Linked DNA regions of Homo sapiens: regions 1, 2, 3 and 5 are each linked to region 4. Evidence: promoter capture Hi-C in human tissues and cell types (Jung and others, 2019). All regions are on one chromosome and are shown on one strand. The core of a region is centred on a gene start or on the middle of the fragment in contact, and the rest is flanking DNA. Distances in the headings are between cores, read along the strand shown. Region 1 holds the start of SOX15 (SRY-box transcription factor 15). Region 2 holds the start of SHBG (sex hormone binding globulin). Region 3 holds the start of SLC2A4 (solute carrier family 2 member 4). Region 4 holds the start of AURKB (aurora kinase B). Region 5 overlaps ZBTB4 (zinc finger and BTB domain containing 4).

What was found. The method cuts DNA at HindIII sites, captures the fragments that hold promoters and counts their contacts. A contact is called where the count stands out against the background at its distance.
Region 1: a contact is called between the fragment with the promoter of SOX15 here and the fragment with the promoter of AURKB in region 4, in 1 of the 25 tissues and cell types used here (heart left ventricle).
Region 2: the fragment with the promoter of SHBG here is called in contact with the fragment with the promoter of AURKB in region 4 in 1 of the 25 tissues and cell types used here (heart left ventricle).
Region 3: a contact is called between the fragment with the promoter of SLC2A4 here and the fragment with the promoter of AURKB in region 4, in 1 of the 25 tissues and cell types used here (small bowel).
Region 5: a contact is called between a fragment that was not itself captured here and the fragment with the promoter of AURKB in region 4, in 1 of the 25 tissues and cell types used here (psoas muscle).

What each region holds. Positions count from the first base shown.
Region 1 is chr17:7,587,351-7,591,557 of GRCh38, forward strand. SOX15 (SRY-box transcription factor 15) reads right to left here and starts at 2,744. Exons shown (of 2, transcript NM_006942.2): 1 at 1,794-2,744; 2 at 828-1,196. The coding sequence starts at 2,326. The coding sequence ends at 1,028. It overlaps FXR2 (FMR1 autosomal homolog 2), which reads right to left. Exons shown (of 17, transcript NM_004860.4): 17 at 3,880-4,207. It overlaps MPDU1 (mannose-P-dolichol utilization defect 1), which reads left to right. Exons shown (of 7, transcript NM_004870.4): 7 at 76-862. The coding sequence ends at 201. RefSeq lists an enhancer at 1,888-2,462. The HindIII fragment of the contact is 6,906 bases long and covers 429-4,207 here.
Region 2 is chr17:7,628,760-7,633,513 of GRCh38, forward strand. It overlaps SHBG (sex hormone binding globulin), which reads left to right and starts at 1,376. Exons shown (of 8, transcript NM_001040.5): 1 at 1,376-1,524; 2 at 1,657-1,748; 3 at 1,921-2,110; 4 at 2,441-2,602; 5 at 2,830-2,989; 6 at 3,120-3,256; 7 at 3,993-4,200; 8 at 4,445-4,613. The coding sequence starts at 1,414. The coding sequence ends at 4,593. RefSeq lists an enhancer at 3,867-3,956. The HindIII fragment of the contact is 13,012 bases long and covers 1-4,754 here.
Region 3 is chr17:7,280,468-7,284,781 of GRCh38, forward strand. It overlaps SLC2A4 (solute carrier family 2 member 4), which reads left to right and starts at 1,251. Exons shown (of 11, transcript NM_001042.3): 1 at 1,251-1,500; 2 at 2,778-2,894; 3 at 3,006-3,178; 4 at 3,271-3,395; 5 at 3,507-3,622; 6 at 3,750-3,912; 7 at 4,018-4,205. The coding sequence starts at 1,468. RefSeq lists a silencer at 1,215-1,364 and an enhancer at 1,497-2,484. The HindIII fragment of the contact is 23,134 bases long and covers 1-4,314 here.
Region 4 is chr17:8,207,521-8,211,887 of GRCh38, forward strand. AURKB (aurora kinase B) reads right to left here and starts at 3,055. Exons shown (of 9, transcript NM_004217.4): 1 at 3,010-3,055; 2 at 2,657-2,729; 3 at 218-320; 4 at 51-105. The coding sequence starts at 2,704. RefSeq lists enhancers at 2,287-2,946, 2,508-2,557. The HindIII fragment of the contact is 18,109 bases long and covers 1-4,367 here.
Region 5 is chr17:7,472,965-7,477,383 of GRCh38, forward strand. The region is part of intron 1 of ZBTB4 (zinc finger and BTB domain containing 4); the gene reads right to left. Among named protein-coding and RNA genes, the nearest start is that of ZBTB4, 4.5 kb to the right of the region's middle. The HindIII fragment of the contact is 3,437 bases long and covers 819-4,255 here.

The sequences.
Region 1 (4,207 bases), core at 1,494-3,993, 620 kb before region 4:
AGGAACCTTTGTCCATAAGGGAACCTTTCTTGAGCTATGCTGAAGGGTAACCCTGGCTCTGTCTCTTGCAACCAGGAAACCGGAGATCCCCTGATGGCTGGGACCTTTGTGGTCTCCTCTCTCTGCAACGGCCTCATCGCCGCCCAGCTGCTCTTCTACTGGAATGCAAAGCCTCCCCACAAGCAGAAAAAGGCGCAGTAGAGCCAGCTACTGGAGTCATTCCGTTTCCACTCATTCACCCAACCTCAGGGTTCTCCCCATCTGAGCCAGCCTGCTGGTGTGACTTACTCATCCTCCATTCCTCTGCACTTGCAGACTTTCTGAGCCAGGGTTTTCTTTTAGTGGAAACAAATGGTTGATGGATCCAGATCCTTAGAAAAGGAGAGGATGGGGGTAGAGTCTCCCAAGCCAAAATTTTGACATTTGAGTGCTTTCGTAAGCCCTGTACATGTACTATTAATTCAGTCATTCAGCCAAGCCTCCTCCTCTAGCAGCAATTTCCAGCTGTGTAACACTATCCTGGGCAAATGTTTTACCCTGTCCTCCAGCCTCCCTGCTTCCCTTCTGGCCCTGGAAGACTGAGTCTGGACGGCAGAGTGGAGGGACTGGGAGGCTGTGGCTGCCTCCCTCCCTCAGCCCGGCTGGGACTGTCTCCCGGACCCCAGTGCTGGGGTGGGGGAAGGGGGACGGAGAATGACTCAGGCAGGGCCCCAGGGTGGGGTGAGGAGGTTCCTGCTCTGGCAGGTCTAGGCGGAAGGGAGTGGAGATGGGGCTGGTTCCTGCTGCAGTGAGGGGAACAGATGGGACAATAAAGACTGGAGACTCAGTTGAATAATACAAAACTGTTTAATACTACCAAAAATATAATTGTATGTTGTGCGGCTCTCCCTGGCTATCATGGGAGGACTGCAGGCTGCCTCTGAACTGTAGTCCAACAGGAGAAAGGGTTGACAGCCTGGGGTAGGGGATGCTGCTGGATTAAAAAAGGAGGATGAGGCCCGTCCCGTGAGGTCTGCGTCCATGAGGGTTAGAGGTGGGTTAGGGGCATGGGGGCACCAGCAAGGGGAGGGTTGTATGGAGTGGGAGAGCCAGGGGGCAGGTAGTGGGTATAGGTGGGCAGCAGTTCCCCCTGGAGCCTAGGGTCACTCTGAGGGAGGGAGCACGGTGAGGGGGCTTCCAGTTTGCAGTGGGAAGAGCTGCAGAGAGAAACAAGAGGTTAGAGGGCACTTCCCTGGGTTGGAGGTGAGTCTGGCCAGTTCTGGGCAGACAGGGTAGAGCGTGCCACCCACCCAGCCCTGGCTACCCAGCCCGCTGGGCGCAGCAGGCATGGAAGCCGACCCCGGGATGGAGAGCCCGCGGCCCTGTTGGGGCACGCTCGGGAGCGGGCTTGCGTGCTGCACGGCTGTTTTCCTCTTGGGGAGTCAGGCCAGGAAAGGGCAGAATGAGCTCGGCCTCTCCTTGCCCTGGGGGCTGGGAGAGGAAGCTGGGTCACACACAGGCCAGAAGCAGGGGGGAAACGGGGCATCTAACTAGGACACAGTCGCATCCAGGGGTCAGTCACCTGACCCTACAGGGCCCACCACCTTCAGACTGAGATGGAAACGCCCTCTGGGAGAACCCTGATCCGCCCCACCCTACACAGGCCCCGGAGGTACTGGGCCTGCGCCCGCCACACCTTGGCCGCGAGTGGCCTCTGCTTGGGTGGGCTCCCGTCCTCCGGCATCCGCCCCCACCAAGGCTCCAGAAGAGGGGCGCATGGGCCTCCGTCTTCGGCCCGCTTCCCAGGCACTCACCCATAGCTGCCAGGCAGGTAGGCTGTCGAGTAGCTGGGGGGTCTGTACCCAAAGCCTCTGCTCGGTTGGGTGGTCGCGTACCCCGGCCCCCAGAGCGGGCCGCCGCTGGCCAGGTTGCCTCTTCCCTGTCCGCAGCGGGAAGGTCCGGCGCCCGAGCTCTTGGCCTTGCGCCGAGGCCGGTACTTGTAGTCGGGGTAGTCGCGCAGGTGTCGGGCGCGGAGCCGCTTGGCCTCCTCCACGAAGGGCCGCTTCTCGTCCTCGTCCAGCAGCTTCCACTGCGCGCCCAGGCGCTTGGAGATCTCGGAGTTGTGCATCTTGGGGTTCTGCTGCGCCATCTGGCGGCGCTGAGCGGAGCTCCACACCATGAACGCGTTCATCGGCCGCTTCACCTTCTCCAGGGGCAGCGTCCCGGGGGCCGCGGGGCTCCCAGCGCCCTCCCGCTCCTGGGGTCCCGAAGATGAGGAGGCAGCAGCCGTGGCAGCCGGAGGCTCCAGGCTCCAGGCCTGGTCCTGTGAGGAGCCTGGTAGCGCCATGGGTTGGGAGAAGCCTTAAGAGGGCGTCCTGAATGCCCTCCCCTCAACGTGAAGCGTCGATCCTGAAAATGGAAAGGTCTTCCCAGTCTGGAGTCGTTGCCGAGGAACTTGGGTCCTTAAAAAGTGTATTTTATCCCCAAGCCCAGAGCTTAAACCGGAGCCTTTGCTTCCAACCTGTTCGGCACACTTTGGGGAGAGTCGAATGCAAAATCCGCTGTCTGGTGCCCCGGCACTGAAGAGGTGTTCTGAGGCCTACTGACTGGGGGACCCCCGGTCCCTCTCCCCGACCCGCAGCTGCGATCAGACCGACCTTCCGTGGAGGGGGTAAACCATAAACCCCTTTGTGGTCTCCGGAGTTCCGACAGCTGCCAGGCGCGGATAGGCCAGACCTCTCCCACCTGGGCTCAGCGTTTGTGGCAGGCGGGCCAGACCTGGGAACAGCTTTTAAAGACTGACTCCGCCCCTGTCCCTCCCATAAGACTGCACCTCCTTAAGGGCGCCAACATCCTCAGCCCGTAGGTAAACCCAGGTGTCCTGTTTGTCCCAGCCCCCAACACCCTCAGGGTGCCACGCCCCCCGCCCCCCCCACCCAAGACCTGATGTCAGGCCTTCCAGCCCGTTGCTGATTGCCTCCCCTCCCTGAAGCACAGGCAATTTAAAGCCAATTCTTTCCACAATGGGATCAAACACAGGGGGATGAAGTGCCCTCAGGGCCCGAGTTGTGCTGAGAGGAGCTTGGGAGCATCCCGGACCACCACCCCAACCCCTTTCCTGGTGCCTGTTGCTCCTCAAATCCCAGAACTGCCCCTGGGGCAAGAAAGGCCGAGGAGGGAGACCATTTTTGTTTCCTGAGTCATTCCAGCAGGTGCTTGGGCCGTGATTCAACCCCTTTCCCAAGTGAGAAAACTTAAGCCCTCCCAACTCCAGTCCCTAAACCTATATTTCTCCACTGCTATTGAATTATGGCAAGTTTTAGCTTCAGTCGTCCAAGTCATGAGGGGGGAGCCAGGAAACCCAGGACAACTCCCCAAGTTAAGAGGTCTGTGATGCGCATGCCGGAGAAAAAGCCTGGAGCCAGAACAGAACACCACCAAGAAGGCCGGACCCCGGGCTCCAGAGGCTGCTGTGAGGGAACCCTGCTCCCCACTCTGCCCAACGGCCCAGCCCAAGCCCCAGGCCTCAGGTAATCGGATTAAGCAGCCTGCCTTGGCTCTCAGCTTCTACAGGAACAGCTCCAGCTCTGAGCAGCCCTGCCTAGCCTGTGCTGTGACTCAGGGTATAGGAGTGGCCCAACTCCCTCTACCAGCAAACTTGGGGGAGGGGAGAAGCAACAAGGCACAAGCCCCCCTCCTCTGAACCAGGAGGGAGAACCTGGGCCTGGGGAGTTTAGGAATGTCAGGAATTCCCAGAAGTAAGACCATCTTTGGGACAAGAGACAATGAAGAGAAGTCAGATGTGGAGGAACAGAAAACAAGAGCCAGGGGCCAGGGCAGGTCAGTCCTAGAGAAACAAATGGACCAAACTGGGGACAAAGAAGGCACAGGAGCCAGACAGCCATTTGGATTTTTTTATTCTCTTTTTAAATACTGTACAGTGAAAAATAAATACGCCTTCTCATCCACCAGACAAGGTTGGTCCCCTCCCCAGGGGGACCTTGTCACCCCCCTTCATACACACCCCTGGTTCTACTCCAAAACCTTCCCCGTGCCTCCCACCCACTTATCTCTTACTATCCCCGTCTTCCACAGTGATGAGGCCCCAGAAATGGGGGGTACAGGATGGGAGGAGGGATAGCAGGGGAGGCCCCCTGAACGGTCAAATCTGGGTGGGTCGAGGAGCACCCCCCACCAACAGGTGGAGAATGGGGGTGTTCAGAGAGAG
Region 2 (4,754 bases), core at 126-2,625, 580 kb before region 4:
TAAAATGGGTCATGGGGTGGGCACAGTGGCTCACACCTGTAATCCCAGCATTTTGGGAGGCAGAGGCAGGCGGATCACCTGAGATCAGGAATTTGAGACCAGCCTGACCAACATGGTGAAACCCCGTCTCTACTAAAAATACAAAAATTAGACAGGTGTGGTGGCGCATGCCTTTACTCCCAGCTACTCGGGAGGCTGAGACAGGAGAATCGCTTGAACCTGGGAGGTGGAGGTTACAGTGAGCCGAGATCGTGCCATTGCACTCCAGCCTGGGCAACAAAAGCGAAACTCCATCTCAAAATAAATAAATAAAATAAAATGCGTCAGGGAGGGTCGGGCCTTGTGGCTAATGCCTGTAATCCAGGTACTTTGGGAGGCTGAGGTGGGCGGATCATTTCAGGTCAGAGGTTCGAGATCAGCCTGGGCAACGTGGTGAAATCCCCGTCTCTACTAAAAACACAAAAAAATTTGCTGGGCGTGGTGGTGCGTGCACCTGTAGTCCCAACTACTAAGGAGGCTGAGACAGGAGGATCGCTTGAACTCGAGAGGCAGAGGCAGCAGTGAGCCGAGATCACGCCACTGCACTCCAGCCTGGGTGATAGAGCAAGACTCTGTCTAAAATAAAATAAAATAAAATAAAATAAAATAAAATAAAATGGGTCAGGGAGTGGGTGATTTCTACTGCTAGACTGTTTAGGCCCTGTAATAAATGGATAAGGGAAGATAACTGAGAGGCGGGGGGCAGGTCCCTTCTTAATATTCACTGAATCATACACACAGACAATACCTTCTTGGGAGACAGGCCTCAGAGGCCTGGGAAAAGACTGGGGGAGGAGTTCAGACCAGATGCCAGGCACTGTGCCTGCATTTTCTCAATGAACCCTCTTTCACAGTCACCCCGTAAAGTATTATTTTCCTCATTTTACAGACAAGGACACTGAAGCACAGAGGTGAAGTGACTTGCCCAAGGTCACTCAGCTAGAAATTTAGGATTCCATTATCTCATTTCTAGTCCTGATACAGGATGCTACTTGGGACGCAGGGGAGGACTGTTTCTAGACCTCAGGCCTGTGAATGCAGGCTCCCCGAGTGGACAGAAATCTTGGAGGACCTAGATCAGGCCCTAGAGGAGGAGAGGGGAGATGGAATATCCTCTCCCAGTTCAGAAACTTTCTCGGCAGTGGAGGATGATAGTGGAGGGGACTCTGTCCTTCACCCCATTGATCCCCAGAGGGGTGATAGCTGAGTCTTGTGACTGGGCCCCTGGGCAGGGGTCAAGGGTCAGTGCCCCTGTTTCCTTTACCCCCTCCTCCCCGGGCAACCTTTAACCCTCCACCGCCCACACGCAAGGCTGCCTGCCTCTACACATTCTCCCAAGAGTTGTCTGAGCCGCCGAGTGGACAGTGGCTGATTATGGAGAGCAGAGGCCCACTGGCTACCTCGCGCCTGCTGCTGTTGCTGCTGTTGCTACTACTGCGTCACACCCGCCAGGGATGGGCCCTGAGACCTGTTCTCCCCACCCAGGTGCAGGAGCGGGACAGGGCACTCAGCTCATGCAGTCTTCCCTTCTCTCCTCTGGCCCTGTAGCAGGGCCTCTCCCTCTGTCTGTCTCTGACATGTCCCTACTCAGCTTTGTTTGTTTTCTCTTTCTGATAGAGTGCCCACGACCCTCCGGCTGTCCACCTCAGCAATGGCCCAGGACAAGAGCCTATCGCTGTCATGACCTTTGACCTCACCAAGATCACAAAGTATGGGGTTGGCCTAGCCCTTGACCCAGTCCCCTGGTTCTGCCCTCTCTCCATCAGCTCTTCTCTTTTCCCTGTCTTCCTTTCCTTATCTGTGAACACCATCTCCCCCAAACCCACACTGGTTCTCAAAGGACACATGACATACACAATCTTTCCTTCTGTGTCCTTCCAGAACCTCCTCCTCCTTTGAGGTTCGAACCTGGGACCCAGAGGGAGTGATTTTTTATGGGGATACCAACCCTAAGGATGACTGGTTTATGCTGGGACTTCGAGACGGCAGGCCTGAGATCCAACTGCACAATCACTGGGCCCAGCTTACGGTGGGTGCTGGACCACGGCTGGATGATGGGAGATGGCACCAGGTAAGCTAGCTCTGGTCCTCAGGGGAGGGATGTCTGGAGCTGGTCTGAGGAAAGGGAACAAAACCAAGTTATTGGGCATCCCTCTACCACTGTCATCTCGTTTAATCCACACGAACCCCCACAAAGTAGCTATTCTTGGCCCCATCTTTTCTGATGGGAATTCTAAGGCTCAGTCAGTATATAAGTGACAAGAGCTGAGTGACCCAAGGCCAAGGATGCTAGCTGCTTCTTTAAGGCATGTTCTTTCCACTATAGTACTAGGCTGCCTCACAGGAAGGTGGCAGAAACAGATCCCAGGGGCCTCTGATTTTGCTTCCCACCTTCCTGCAGGTGGAAGTCAAGATGGAGGGGGACTCTGTGCTGCTGGAGGTGGATGGGGAGGAGGTGCTGCGCCTGAGACAGGTCTCTGGGCCCCTGACCAGCAAACGCCATCCCATCATGAGGATTGCGCTTGGGGGGCTGCTCTTCCCCGCTTCCAACCTTCGGTTGCCGGTAACTACACCCCAGGGGTGGAACCCTAGCCAAGACTTGGTAAAGCACTGCTGGGTGGCTGGCCGTGGGAATCTAAGTCCACACTTTTAGGGAGAAGGGAAGGGTTGAGAGCTGCAAGGGGGAGGCCAAATGCTCAGAGGGGAGTCAACTGAGGGCAGGGAGGTCGGGACTGCGGCTCCGATGCCCTGATTTCTACATCCCCGTATCTTATCTCTGTCACACTCCAGCTGGTTCCTGCCCTGGATGGCTGCCTGCGCCGGGATTCCTGGCTGGACAAACAGGCCGAGATCTCAGCATCTGCCCCCACTAGCCTCAGAAGCTGTGATGTAGAATCAAATCCCGGGATATTTCTCCCTCCAGGGACTCAGGCAGAATTCAATCTCCGAGGTAGATTTCCTCGGAGTCTATTTTTCCCACCCTGGCCAGCTCAGCCTGCCTCTGTCCCCCTCTACCACTGGCCCCTTTCCTCCTTGAGACCCCAGCTTTGAGGCCTCAGGATAATCATTTCTCCCCACAGACATTCCCCAGCCTCATGCAGAGCCCTGGGCCTTCTCTTTGGACCTGGGACTCAAGCAGGCAGCAGGCTCAGGCCACCTCCTTGCTCTTGGGACACCAGAGAACCCATCTTGGCTCAGTCTCCACCTCCAAGATCAAGTAAAGGGGGACAGTGGGGCATTGCCTGTATTCAGTGGAGCCTGGAGCAATGAGGGAAGAGGGGAGTCCAACATGTCAATATTAGGAAGGTTTCCAGCCCAGGGAACATAACAAGACTGGCTCCACAGAATTGTTTTTCATTAATAATTAGCCAGGCATGGTGGTGCTTGCCTGTAATCCCAGGTGCTGGAGGCCAAGACCAGAGGATCACTTGAGGCCAGGAGTTTGACACCAGCCTGGGCAACATAGCAGAGACCTCTGTCTAAAAAAAAAAAAAAATTAGCCAGGCATGGTAGCACATGTCTGCTGCCCTAGCTATTTAGGAGCCTGAGGCAGGAGGTTCACTTGAGCCCAGGAGTTTGAAGCTGCAGTGAGCTATGATGTGCCACTGCACTCTGACCTGGGCCACAGTGAGACCCTGTCTCAAAAAAATAAAAATAAAAATAAGGCTTATGGATGGCACTCAGGTGGGTGGTAGGGGCGAGGGACATATCTTGAAGCTCCCCACAGCAAGCAAACAGTTTTGACTTAGACTGCATATTTACTTGGGGCAGGTGTGGTTTCAAAAAGGGTCAAGCCAAAAAAAATTGGGGCAGGATTTAAGTGGTGAGAATGGCCAGTAGGTGGAGGCATAGCGAAGAGGCAGAATTAAGGCAGCTAGGGGTGAGGCCACAGGCAGTAGGCCCGGCTCATTCTTCCCTCTCTCTCTACCGTCCCTTTCCCACACACTCTGCAGAAGGTGGTGTTGTCTTCTGGGTCGGGGCCAGGGCTGGATCTGCCCCTGGTCTTGGGACTCCCTCTTCAGCTGAAGCTGAGTATGTCCAGGGTGGTCTTGAGCCAAGGGTCGAAGATGAAGGCCCTTGCCCTGCCTCCCTTAGGCCTGGCTCCCCTCCTTAACCTCTGGGCCAAGCCTCAAGGGCGTCTCTTCCTGGGGGCTTTACCAGGTAAGAGAGAATGATGTTCAAGTTCATGAGCACAACATTGGAAACAGCTCAAGGGAGGCGGCACATTTTGAGGGGAAGGAAACCTCTGGGAGGGAAGAAGAATAGGCCACAAGAAGAAGATATGGGGGCAGTGGAAGGTAGTGCTTTTGCAAACTCAGGTTGGAGGAGTGGAAAAGTGGGGAGAAGATTCTGGATCCGAGCCACCTTAATGCTCTAATGCCACCTTTGCACTACCTCCCTCTAGGAGAAGACTCTTCCACCTCTTTTTGCCTGAATGGCCTTTGGGCACAAGGTCAGAGGCTGGATGTGGACCAGGCCCTGAACAGAAGCCATGAGATCTGGACTCACAGCTGCCCCCAGAGCCCAGGCAATGGCACTGACGCTTCCCATTAAAGCTCCACCTAAGAACCCCCTTTGAAAGTTACTGATTATTCATTTATTCAACAAATATTCACTGTGCACTAGCAATGTACCAGGCACTGTGCCAAGTATTGAGTTGTCTTAATGAGCAAAAACACTCTGGTTCCTACCCTCTTGGTGCCCACAGTCCCATA
Region 3 (4,314 bases), core at 1-2,500, 930 kb before region 4:
AGGAGGAATCGAGCCTGACTTCTACCATAGGGGTGACTGGGCGGGTAATTCATTGAAATAAGGAAGTTAGGAGGAGGAGCAGGTTTGGACATGCTGATCACTAGAGCTGCCACATCCGGGCGGTAACGAACACCTGGATCTGCAGCTCCAGAGAAGGGCCTGGGTCAGATGTCACTGAAGCCCTATGGTGGCGGAAAGGCGAGAAATAGTGGGTTGAGATTCCAAGTGCAATCCACTGCGGCTCCTCGCTCGCCCTCCAGGTGGCAGCACAACCCTGCGCTTCCGAAGCCCGTTTTCTGAGCCAGACACTCTCCACGCTCTGGGTATTTCGGCTTCTCTCTCCCCACACGCCGACCCTAGGTCGCGCACTTTCTGCCTGGCAGAATTTGGCCGAGGATCCAAACCCGGAGCAGCCTCCAGAGAGCGTGTCGTTCACGCGGCCAGCATATGCTCAGAGACCTCAGAGGCTCAGAGACCTCAGGGCTGGTGGTGTGGTCGGTTGTGACCACTTGTCCCTCGGACCGGCTCCAGGAACCAACCTGGGGAATGTGTGTAGGGGAAGGGCGGGATAGACAGTGCCCGGAGCAGGGAGGCGCTGAAAGACAGGACCAAGCAGCCCGGCCACCAGACCCGTTGTGGGAACGGAATTTCCTGGCCCCCAGGGCCACACTCGCGTGGGAAGCATGTCGCGGACTCTTTAAGGCGTCATCTCCCTGTCTCTCCGCCCCCGCCTGGGACAGGCCGGGACGCCCGGGACCTGACATTTGGAGGCTCCCAACGTGGGAGCTAAAAATAGCAGCCCCGGGTTACTTTGGGGCATTGCTCCTCTCCCAACCCGCGCGCCGGCTCGCGAGCCGTCTCAGGCCGCTGGAGTTTCCCCGGGGCAAGTACACCTGGCCCGTCCTCTCCTCTCAGACCCCACTGTCCAGACCCGCAGAGTTTAAGATGCTTCTGCAGCCCGGGATCCTAGCTGGTGGGCGGAGTCCTAACACGTGGGTGGGCGGGGCCTTTTGTTCCAGGGACTCTTTTCTCAAAACTTCCCAGTCGGAGGCTGGCGGGAACCCGAGAGGCGTGTCTCGCCAGCCACGCGGAGGGGCGTGGCCTCATTGGCCCGCCCCACCAACTCCAGCCAAACTCTAAACCCCAGGCGGAGGGGGCGTGGCCTTCTGGGGTGTGCGGGCTCCTGGCCAATGGGTGCTGTGAAGGGCGTGGCCCGCGGGGGCAGGAGCGAGGTGGCGGGGGCTTCTCGCGTCTTTTCCCCCAGCCCCGCTCCACCAGATCCGCGGGAGCCCCACTGCTCTCCGGGTCCTTGGCTTGTGGCTGTGGGTCCCATCGGGCCCGCCCTCGCACGTCACTCCGGGACCCCCGCGGCCTCCGCAGGTTCTGCGCTCCAGGCCGGAGTCAGAGACTCCAGGATCGGTTCTTTCATCTTCGCCGCCCCTGCGCGTCCAGCTCTTCTAAGACGAGATGCCGTCGGGCTTCCAACAGATAGGCTCCGAAGTAGGATTCATCATGAGGGGGCGGGGCGGGGGGGCACGGGTCCCGCTTTTCTTGGGCTGGGGTCGCGGTTGGGGTCAGCTGGGGGTGGTTCCTGCGCAGGCGCAGGGGGTGAAGGTAGGGGGCTGGCTATTTATACCCGGCCTGGACAACCCGTGACTGTGAGATTCCAATCCTACCAAAAGGCAGAGTGGGTCTGGAGGGCCTTTCGGGGCACAGGCAGCAAGTGGATTCTGCGAGCCAGGGTTCACCCCCTTGCCTAGTAGGCGGCGCGGCGCTCCGGAATCGGGGACACCCTGCCCTCGATCCGACTCGGGAAAGCAGATCCAGGCGGGTCTTGCCCTCCGGGAGCTGTCCGTCCGTCTTCGCTCACGGGCAGTGTTTCGAGGACCGGAGGCTCTCCGTGGGCCCCCACCCCCACTCCTGGCCGCCCTCCAGGACGCTGAACTTTCCCTTGGCCCCATGGTTGGTGGAGGGGCAGAGGGGACTGTCAGCCCCCCCTCCTCCAGCTCAGGTTTCCGCTTGGAGACAGTCTGTGCCGCCAGCGAGCGGCCACCACTGCCACCGCCCCTCACACTACCTTCCTGCCCTCCTCCCCTGGGCATGGCTCTCCCAGGCAGAACCCCTGGACGGCCCTCCCTGCACGGAGGTTAGAGGGGGAGGGCAGGCCACGACGTAGATAGAGAAGGCCACCCCTAGATGACCGGGATGTCCTTTCTGGAACAGCACTTCTTGGTCCTGTTGGGGGCCTCCTGGAGCTGGCTGACAGAACCCCCAGAGGGGAGGGAAGAGGACAGTGGCTGATGATAATAATGCACGTGTTAATTTATGAAACCAGCACTGTCAAGGATATTGTTAACATGTGATGTTGATTTTCACAACACTCTCACAGATAGGTAGGCAAGGCAGGCAACATCACCCCCATCTCACAGAGGACACTCAGGTTCGGGGCAGGGAAGTGACTTGGCCAAGGTCACACAAATCTGAGCTCTTAAGGCCAAGCCTGTCTCAAGGTCACAGAAGAATTTTGAGACAAGTTCTCAAACATTTCTCTGCCTTATGGACCCAAACATCCAGTTTCTCCTTTATGCCCAGGTTGCAGTTCAGCTCCTGTTTACATTGAGATCTTTGTGCAATTCCTAATATGGCCCAGTTTCCCTCACCCAACATGTTGGGTGGAGCCCAGTATCTTCAGGCTCCAGCTGGGCCCGGGCCCCTAGCGGAAGGAAAAAAATCATGGTTCCATGTGACATGCTGTGTCTTTGTGTCTGCCTGTTCAGGATGGGGAACCCCCTCAGCAGCGAGTGACTGGGACCCTGGTCCTTGCTGTGTTCTCTGCGGTGCTTGGCTCCCTGCAGTTTGGGTACAACATTGGGGTCATCAATGCCCCTCAGAAGGTGAGGGCCTGCAGCTGGCAGGGTGGGGGTACCCAAACGAGGAGGACAGGTGTCTCGGGGGTGGTGGAAAGGGGACGGTCTGCAGGAAATCTGTCCTCTGCTGTCCCCCAGGTGATTGAACAGAGCTACAATGAGACGTGGCTGGGGAGGCAGGGGCCTGAGGGACCCAGCTCCATCCCTCCAGGCACCCTCACCACCCTCTGGGCCCTCTCCGTGGCCATCTTTTCCGTGGGCGGCATGATTTCCTCCTTCCTCATTGGTATCATCTCTCAGTGGCTTGGAAGGTTCGCAGCTGGAGGGCAGGGGTGGGGGAAACAGGAAGGGAGCCACTGCTGGGTGCCCTCACCCTCACAGCCTCACTCTGTCTGCCTGCCAGGAAAAGGGCCATGCTGGTCAACAATGTCCTGGCGGTGCTGGGGGGCAGCCTCATGGGCCTGGCCAATGCTGCTGCCTCCTATGAAATGCTCATCCTTGGACGATTCCTCATTGGCGCCTACTCAGGTACTCACGGGCACCACAGCCCTGCCTAGCGCCCTGTTCTCTTTCACCATGCCTGGGCTTTCAGATGGGAATGGACACCTGCCCTCAGCCCTCTCTTCTTCCCTCGCCCAGGGCTGACATCAGGGCTGGTGCCCATGTACGTGGGGGAGATTGCTCCCACTCACCTGCGGGGCGCCCTGGGGACGCTCAACCAACTGGCCATTGTTATCGGCATTCTGATCGCCCAGGTGACCGGAGCAAGCCTCATGGGTGCCTGGGCAGTGGTTAGAGTGGGGCTCTGGAGAATATGGTGGGCTTCCAAGGTAAGGCAGAAGGGCTGAGTGACCTGCCTTCTTTCCCAACCTTCTCCCACAGGTGCTGGGCTTGGAGTCCCTCCTGGGCACTGCCAGCCTGTGGCCACTGCTCCTGGGCCTCACAGTGCTACCTGCCCTCCTGCAGCTGGTCCTGCTGCCCTTCTGTCCCGAGAGCCCCCGCTACCTCTACATCATCCAGAATCTCGAGGGGCCTGCCAGAAAGAGTAAGCTCTCCCGCTGCAGCCTGGCCCAGGCCCATGCCTCCGCCTCATCTTGCTAGCACCTGGCTTCCTCTCAGGTCCCCTCAGGCCTGACCTTCCCTTCTCCAGGTCTGAAGCGCCTGACAGGCTGGGCCGATGTTTCTGGAGTGCTGGCTGAGCTGAAGGATGAGAAGCGGAAGCTGGAGCGTGAGCGGCCACTGTCCCTGCTCCAGCTCCTGGGCAGCCGTACCCACCGGCAGCCCCTGATCATTGCGGTCGTGCTGCAGCTGAGCCAGCAGCTCTCTGGCATCAATGCTGTATGTGTGGAGCAGCCTCCAGGCAGGGCACAGCCCCGGGAGGGTAGACGAGAGTGGGGAGCAAACCCCCTCCACCAACACCCAGGGTAGGGCCAGCCTGTTGTGGCTG
Region 4 (4,367 bases), core at 1,805-4,304:
CTGTTCATTGTCCCCTCACCCCCGTCCACCCCCAGGCTTGGGGCACTTACGTTAAGATGTCGGGTGTCCCACTGCTATTCTCCATCACCTTCTGGCCAGGGGCAGCTAAGGAGAGAACAGGTAGGTTGAATGCGAACAGGGATGACCTTCTCATCCCTAAACCCTCCCACAGACGGTCATCTCCCCAGCTCAGTCCTCTCCCCCTTGCGCCAGTTACCTGTGGGCTGGACATTGGAGCGGCTCATGAGGACAAGTGCAGATGGGGTGACAGGCTCTTTCCGGAGGACTCGCTGGGGCAGGGTGCTCAGGCCAGATGGAGCCTGAGAAGGAGCAGGGGGTAGCTCTGAGGGTGCCTTTGTCTGATGACCGGGGTGGAATGTGCTGCAAGCAGTATTTCAGCCCCTTGCTAAAGAGCCACCCACCCACCTACCCCCAATTCAAAGAGAAACACTGATGTGACAGTTTTGCTTCCCAGCCTCTGCTCATAGTCCCATATTAAAATGGGTTATTAATAAACAACCTAGGGCTGGGCGCAGTGGCTCCCGCAGTCAGGAGTTCAAGACCAGCCTGGCCAACATGGTGAAACGCCATCTCTACTAAAAATATAAAAAATTAGCTGGGTGCGGCTGGGCGTGGTGGCTCATGCTTGTAATCCCAGCACTTTGGAAGGCCGAGGCAGGCGGATCACAAGGTCAGGAGTTTGAGACCAGCCTGGCCAACACAGTGAAACCCCATCTCTACTAAAAATACAAAAATTAGCTGGCCGTGGTGGCACGCTCCTGTAATCCCAGCTACTCAGGAGGCTGAGGCAGGAGAATCGCTTGAACCTGGGAGGCACAGGTTGCAGTGAGCCGAGATCGTACCATTGCACTCCAGCCTGGGCAACAGAGCTAGACTCCATCTCAAAAAAAAAAAAAAAAATTAGCCAGGTGTGGTGGCAGGCGCCTGTAATCCCAGCTACTCGGGAGGCTGAGGCAGGAGAATCGCTTGAACCTGGGCGGCAGAGGTTGCAGTGAGCTGAGATCGCACCATTGCACTCCAGCCTGGGCAACACAGTGAGGCTCCGTCTCAAAAAATAAATAAATAAATAAATAAATAAATAAATAAATAAAAAATAAATAACCTAAGTAGGCCTAAGATAAGGGGCAAAGGACTCACACCAACACCTAACATTTCACTTCTTTGGCCCTGGCCCACACTTTTCAGGCATGAAGCTGTTCAACCTGTATAAGTCCTGTCCATAACAACACAGTCATTCATCCAGCCCCTCACTTACACCACAGTAGAGAGCTGCGTCAATGAACACCCACAATTCAAGGGGTTTAGCACAGAGGTATTCTCAAAGTCTCCTAAAAAGCTTAGTTTATTAAGGCTTAGATAAGATGCTTGAGGCCTTGAATGTTATAGCAATAACCAGGATTTACACTTTTGCAAGAACAGGCTTTAAGGACACTAAGAGCTACCCTGATGGCCCTGGACCACTTCTCACTTTCAACTTCTTCATTTTTTTTTTTTTTTGAGATGGAGTCTCGCTCTATTACCCAGGCTGGAGTGCAATGGTGCCATCTCGGCTCACTGCAACCTCCACCTCCCAGGTTCAGGCAATTCTCCTGCCTCGGCCTCCTGAGTAGGTGGGATTACAGGCACATGCCTGGCTAATTTTTGTATTTTTAGTAGAGACGGGGTTTTACCATGTTGGCCAGGCTGGTCTCGAACTCCTGACCTCAGGTGATCCACCTGCCTCAGCCTCCCAGTGCTGGGATTACAGGCGTGAGCCACCTACCTGGCCTCACTTTCAACTCTCAAAATAATAGGTACATTTTCTTTTAGGAGTGACTAAGGTAAAAGTGACAATGGTTTCTCATTCAGACTCCATTCCTGACAGCCTCACTCAGTGCTCCATGAGGGAGGGAGCTGATGTACAAGGGAACAGACAGACTCTCCAGGAAGCAAGAGCTCCAAAAACAGGGAGCAAAGCCTGTGCAGGGCCCCTTCCTTCTTCTGCAGCCAAGAGAAGAAAGCCCCTAGGCCCCAAATAGTGATATTGGTACCAATCTACAAATAAGCAAGTTGAATAAAATACAGTCCAGAAATAGACCCACATATATGTGGGAATTTATATATATAATAAAGGTGGCATTTCAAATCAGAGAGGAGGCCCTTCAATGAAATCTGTCTGGACCATTGGGAAATAAGTCAATTTAGATCCATTTAGATTCTTACCTCAATTTAGTCATTAATTCCAAATTGTAATTTAGACTTGCCCTGGGCCTTTTAAACTGTAACTTTATATCCTTTTAGAGTCTATTTCTATTTGCTGTCTAGTTTTTTTTTTTTCAGGATATGGATTGGGAATCATGGCCTGAAGGCCAGGCCCTGCCTGCTCAGTCCCAGATATCATTTGTATGTGACGAGCCCTGCAGAGGTCCTCACCAGCTGGGAGTCACTGGCTGGTCAGATTCACGTTGGCAGCACCTGACAGGATGTGGCTACAAATGACCAGAGCGGGTTCTGTCGTCAAACTTGGGACCCGTACTTTGGAGCATAACGGGGAAGAAAGTGCTTAAAGGATTGCTCATTGCAGGATCTCAAGTTTCCCAGCAGGAACTCGCCATGCGGGGTCATGGGGGCGCAGGGACGGAGGGAAGGGCCTTACCGTCTGTCGGCCGTAGGGCCAGGGGTAGGAGTTCTCCTTCTGGGCCATCCTTAGAGAGAAAGGGGGAGGAGAGCTGGGCGGAGAAGGGAAACAGCCGTGAGAAGCAGAGAAAAAGAGAGAGAGAGGGAGGGGTTGGACCGATCGAGCCGGAAGCGCTAGCCCGAGCTGGTAAAAGGGAGCAGGTCAGCACACTAGCCCCAATCTGGGCGCTGGTCTCACCGCCCCCGCCCTGCTATCGTCCCTACCTCCTTCCAGCCCTGCGGCGTGCGCGCAGGCCAGCCCAACGGACCCTCTGATCTACCTGATCATCTGCCCACTCCCGGCGCAAGGCCTGCGACAGGAGGCCAGCTCACCTGGGGTCCAAGGCACTGCTACTCTCCCGGCCGCCCGCAAACAACTGAATCTGCCACGCCGCGCCCTGGCCAAGGACTTTTCAAATCTCCCGCCCCGGCCCCATTGGGCAAGCTCGTCGCCCATGCCTAGTTCCCATTGGCTCGATGTCCTGTGACGTAAGTCATGGGAACCCAATGGAAGAGGCGGAATGAGAAGGGCTCACGCTTGGCTTCCAGTTTAGGAAAGTTTCCCCAAATTCCCCCAGTGAATTATCTTGCTTTTTCTTTTCTTTTTTTTTTTCCTTTTTTGAGACAGGTCTCTCTCTGTCGCTCAGGCTGGAGTATAATGGTGCTATCTGGGCTTGCTGCAACCTCTGCCTCCCGGGTTCAAGCGATTCTCGTGCCTCAGCCACCCGAGTAGCTGGGATTACAAGCGCCCGCCACCACGCCTGGCTAATTTTTGTATTTTTATTAGAGACGGGTTTTCGCTGTGTTGGCCAATCTGGTCTCGAACTCCTGTCCTCAGGTGATCCACCCGCCTCGGCTTCCCAAAATGCTGGGATTACAGGCGTGAGCCACCGTGCCCGGCCTTCTTCTTTTTATAAAAAAAATTAAATCTTTAATGTAACTGGAGTTTATCCTTATGCATGTATGAGCTGGGGTCTAACTTCTCTGCCCGATGGAGCGCCAGTTATGTCAACACCATTTGTTAAACAAACTGCCCCAACAGAATTTAAATGCTGCCCTTGATATATAATGTTAGCATATTTACTTGTGTCTATTTCTAGACTTTGTATTCCGTTGTTTGCTCATTTGCCTGTGTGTTTATTCTTGTGTCATTACTATGTCGTTCTTAAAAGTTCTGACATTCCTGGGAGGAGTTTTTCCACCAATAGACCTTTCGTTGCAAGATCTCTGTTAGCTGCCGTGTTGTTTGGGCCCACTTTCATTTTTCCTCCTTCCTGCCACACTTCCTTCTTTTCTGCTCTTCCTAACCCTCAGATTTCATTACTGGGTTAAATAAATACATTTTTGGGCCTTCTATGAAATAACCAGTGGATATTTATTAAGTATGTACTGTCCAGCACTCTTCTCCTTTCTTCTAACACTCTATTTTTCCTTTAGGGGACCACCTGTCTCTCCAGTCTATGCAGTCGGTTTCTGTAGTAGTTTCTGTTGCTGACAACCCCAAATCCCTAGGTTGATGAAGACCTATTTAAATCTCACTTTTTTTTTTTTTTTTGAGATGAAGATTCGCTGTGTTGCCCAGGCTGGAGTGCAATGGCACAATCTCAGCTCACCACAACCTCCTCCTCCAGGGTGCAACTGATTCTCCTGTCTCAGCCTCCCGAGTACCTAGGATTATAGGTGCATGTGAC
Region 5 (4,419 bases), core at 1,287-3,786, 740 kb before region 4:
TGCGGCGGGGGACAGAGTCTAGCTCTGTCGCCCAGGCTGGAGTGCAGTGGCACAATCTTGGCTCACTGCAACCTCCGCCTCCCGGGTTCAAGAGATTCTCCTGCCTCAACCTCACGAGTCACTGGGACTATAGGCGCGCGCCACCATTTTTTTTTTTTTTTTTTTTGAGACTGAGTCTCGCTCTGTCGCCCAGGCTGGAGTGCAGTGGTGCGATCTTGGCTCACTGCAAGCTCCGCCTCCCGGGTTCACGCCATTCTCCTGCCTCAGCCTCCGGAGTAGCTGGGACTACAGGCACCCACCACCACTCCCGGCTAATTTTTTTTTGTATTTTTAGTAGAGACGGGGTTTCACCATGTTAGCCAGGATGGTCTCCATCTCCTGACCTTGTGATCTGCCCACTTCGGCATCCCAAAGTGCAGGGATTACAGGCATGAGCCACCGCGCCTGGCCAGGCCCGGATAATTTTTGTATTTTTAGTAGAGATGGGGTTTCACCATGTCGGCCTGGCTGGTCTTAAACTCCTGACCTCAGGTGATCTGCCCGCCTCAGCCTCCCAAAGTGCTGGGATTACAGAGCCTGGTCAATTATTTATCTTTTTTTGAGACAGGATCTTGCTCTGTTGCCCAGGCTGCAGTACAATGGTGAGATTGAGGCTCACTGCAGCCTTAACCTCCTGGGCTCAAATGATCCTCTCACCTGTCAGCCTTCTGAGTAGCTGGGACTACAGGTACCTGCCACCATGCCCAGATAATTTTTGTATTTTTTGTAGAGATGAGGTTTCACCATGTTCCCCAGGGCTGGTATTGAAATCCTGGTCTCAAGCAATCCGCCCAGCTCAGCATCCCAAAGTGCTGGGATCATAGTGGAAAGCCACTGCGCCCAGCTCCTATTTCTTATTTATCTCTGGAATGTAAGCTCCAAGGGGTAAAAGGTAGGAATGTTTTTGGTTTTGTTTTGTTTTTGAGATGGATGGCATCTTGCTCTGTTGCCCAGGCTGGAGTGCAGTGGCATGATCTCTCTCGGCTCACTGCAACCTCTGCCTCCTGGGTTCAAGCAATTTTCCTGCCTCAGCCTCCCAAAAACCTGGAACTACAGGCATATGCCACCACACCCGGCTAATTTTTATATTTTTAGTAGAGACAGGGTTTCACCATGTTGACCAGGCTGGTCTCGAACTCCTGACCTCAGGTGATCCACCCGCCTTGGCCTCCCTCCCAAAGCGCTGGAATTACAGGCATGAGCCACCATGGCCAGACTTTTTTTTTTTTTGACATGAGGTCTTGCTTTGTCACCCAGGCTGTAGTGCAGTGGTGTTACCACAGCTCCCTGCAGCCTTGACCTCCCCTAGGCTCAGGTGATTCTCTCATTACAGCCTCCCAAGTAGCTGGGACTACGGGCATATGCCACCACGCCCAGCGAATTTTTTGTATTTTTAGTAGAGATAGGGCTTCACCATGTTGCCCAGGTTGGTCTCGAACTCCTGGGATCAAGCAATTCACCGCCTTGGACACCCAAAGTGTTGGAATTACAGGTGTGAGCCACAGCGCCCGGCCAAGGGTAGGGAATTTTGTCTGCTTTGTTCATTGCCGTATCTGAAGTCGTTAGAATAGGGCCTAGCACGTAATAGGTGGTAAAAACAAAACAAAAAAACTGGTAAATGAATGAACCTGTCCTCAAAGTCCATCCTCCAGGATGGAAGCCATCGTCCACGCTGGACTGAGTTGGCCTGGAGATAGGGATGACAATTATAACTTGACCACTTCTGGGCCAGGCACAGTGGCGCACACCTGTAATCCCAGCACTTTGGGAGGCTGAGGCGGGCAGATCACTTGAGGTCAGGAGTTCCAGACCAGCCTGGCCAACATGATGAAACCCCATCTGTACTAAAAATACAAAAATTAGCTGGGTGTGGTGGTGCACGCTTGTAACCCCAGCTACTCAGGTGGCTGAGGCAGGAGAATTGCTTGAACCGGGGAGGTGGCGGTTGCAGCGAGCAGAGATTGCGCCACTGCATTCCAGCCTGGGCGACAGAGTGAGACTCTGCCTCAAAAAAAAAAAAAAAAAAAAAAAAGGCCAGGTATGGCCAACTCACGCCTGTAATCCCAGCACTTTGGGAGGCCAAGGCAGGTGGATCACCTGAGGTCAGGGATTGACCACCTGCCTAGCCAACATGGTGAGACCAGCCTGGCCAACATGGTGAAACTTGGTCTCTACTGAAAATAAAAAATTAGCTGGGCGTAGTGGCGGGCGCCTGTAACCCCAGCTACCCGGGAGGCTGAGGCAGGAGAATCACCTGAACCCGGAAGGCGGAGGTTGCAGTGAGCCAAGATCATGCCATTGCATTCCAGCCTGGGTAACAAGAGAGAAATTCCGTCTCAAAAAAAAATTAAAAGAAACCATAAATAAGTTGACCACTCTGGAGTCCTCACAATTTGCCTCATACTCTTCTTGGGGCCTCACACACATTACCTCATTTAATGATATTCTCAGTACAGCCACCCACAATAGGTTTTATATTATCCTGTTGCCCAGGCTGGAGCGCAGTGGCGTGATCTCGGCTCACTGCAACCTCCGTCTCCTGGGTTCAAGCAATTCTCCTGCCTCAGCCTCCAGAGTAGCTGGGATTCCACGCCCAGCTAGTTTTTTTATTTTTAGTAGAGACAGGGTTTCTCCATGTTGGCCAGGCTGGTCTTGAACTCCTGACCTCAGGTGATCCACCTGCCTTGGCTTCCCAAAGTTCTGGGATTACAGGCATGGGCCACTGCGCCCGGCCATATTATTCTAATTTTACAGAAGAGGAAACCGAGGCTCAGAGAGGGATATACCTTACTCGAGGTCGCACAGCTTGTAAGCAGCAGTCAAGATTCGAATCCAGGCCCAGCTGACCCCAGATGCTCAATCTTTCCCTCTGCCATACTGCTAGACCTGGCCCTGAAGAGGCCTATGGCCCGCCAGCTGGTTACATAAACCACCGCACAAGGTCTCACGTGCTAAGTGCTAAATGTGTCATGTCTGACTCCACCCTTTCCCTCACTTCCACATCCAGCAGTCATCAAGTGTGGCTGAAATCGCCGCCGAGCTTGGGAATGGCTCTGGAAATCTTCCCTTCGATAGCTCAGGTCCTTGTTAACACTCACGTGGTCCAAGGTTATGGCCTCCCAGCTATCCCCTGGCCTCCAGGCTTACCTTCCTCCATCCAGCCCTCCTCCCCCTGAGGGTCAACGTCCCTAACCACAGTTCAGGACTATCACTCCTGGGCTCAAAACCTCCACTGGTCCCCACTGACTCTAGAAGAAAGTTCAAATTCTTCTACCAGGCAGTCAAGGGCTCTGGTCTAGCTCCAATCTTCCTTTTTAATCTTGCCTTGTGTTATCCTCTTCAAACACACAGTACTCAGCGTGAGCCAGGCGTGATGGCAGATACCCATAGTCCCAGCTACTCAGGAGGCTGCAGCTAGAGGATTGCTTGAGCCCAGGAGTTTGAGTCCAGCCTGGGCAATATATTGAGACCCAGTTTCTAAACAAATGAACAAAACCCCAGACACCCAGTGTGCTCTCCAGCTTCTACATGACCCACACCTTCATGCCTTTGCCTGTGCTGGCTTGTTCTGCCAGAAATGCTCTTTCCCCAAGCTTGTCAAAATCCCTCCAAAACGTTAAGATCTGACTCCAAGGCCACCTCCTTCTTGGCCCTCCCTGATCCACAGGATGAGAACGATCATTCCTTCCTCTGACTCATCAACCTTTTGTGCTCCTATGGCCAGCATCCACCTTACACAGCAGCAGAGACTCAGGTTCTCATGCCCTCAGCTGGGGATCCCTGAGCATCCGGGTCTTCTGAAATGGACTGCTGCAAATGCTAAGTTCTGCAGCAACTGGGGAGAAGAGTGTTGGAGGGAGTTGCACAGAAAGGACCATCCACTGAATGTTCCAGAAGGCAGCAGAGTACAGTAGTTAAGAGCACAAGATCTTCAACCTGATTGCCCGGGTTCAAATACAGCTTCACCTCTTACTAGCTAAGTGACTTGGGGCAGATTACTTAACTTCTCTGGACCTCAGCTGCCTCACTTGAAAAAGGGAGGTAGAGTGCCTACTTCAGGGTGTTGTTCTGAGGACAGAGTGGCCACATATAAGTGCCCTGAGGACAGGCTGGTGCACGGTCAGTGCTAAGCAAGTGTGTGCTGCCATTATTATCAGCGAAGCCCCAAGAAGGGAATTCCCAGTCCTGGGGGAGGGCTGACAGGGGCTGGCATAGGCACAGCCCCCAGACTATAGCCACTTTCCGGGTCCGTTTCCCATGTGCTTTTGGAAGATACGCAGGGCAGACAATCAGCCCCATTCTGCAGATGAGGAACTGAGCTTCCTTCAGATCAAGTGCCAGTGAGGGAATGGTAAAGACGCCAGAGCTCCTCAGCCCTGG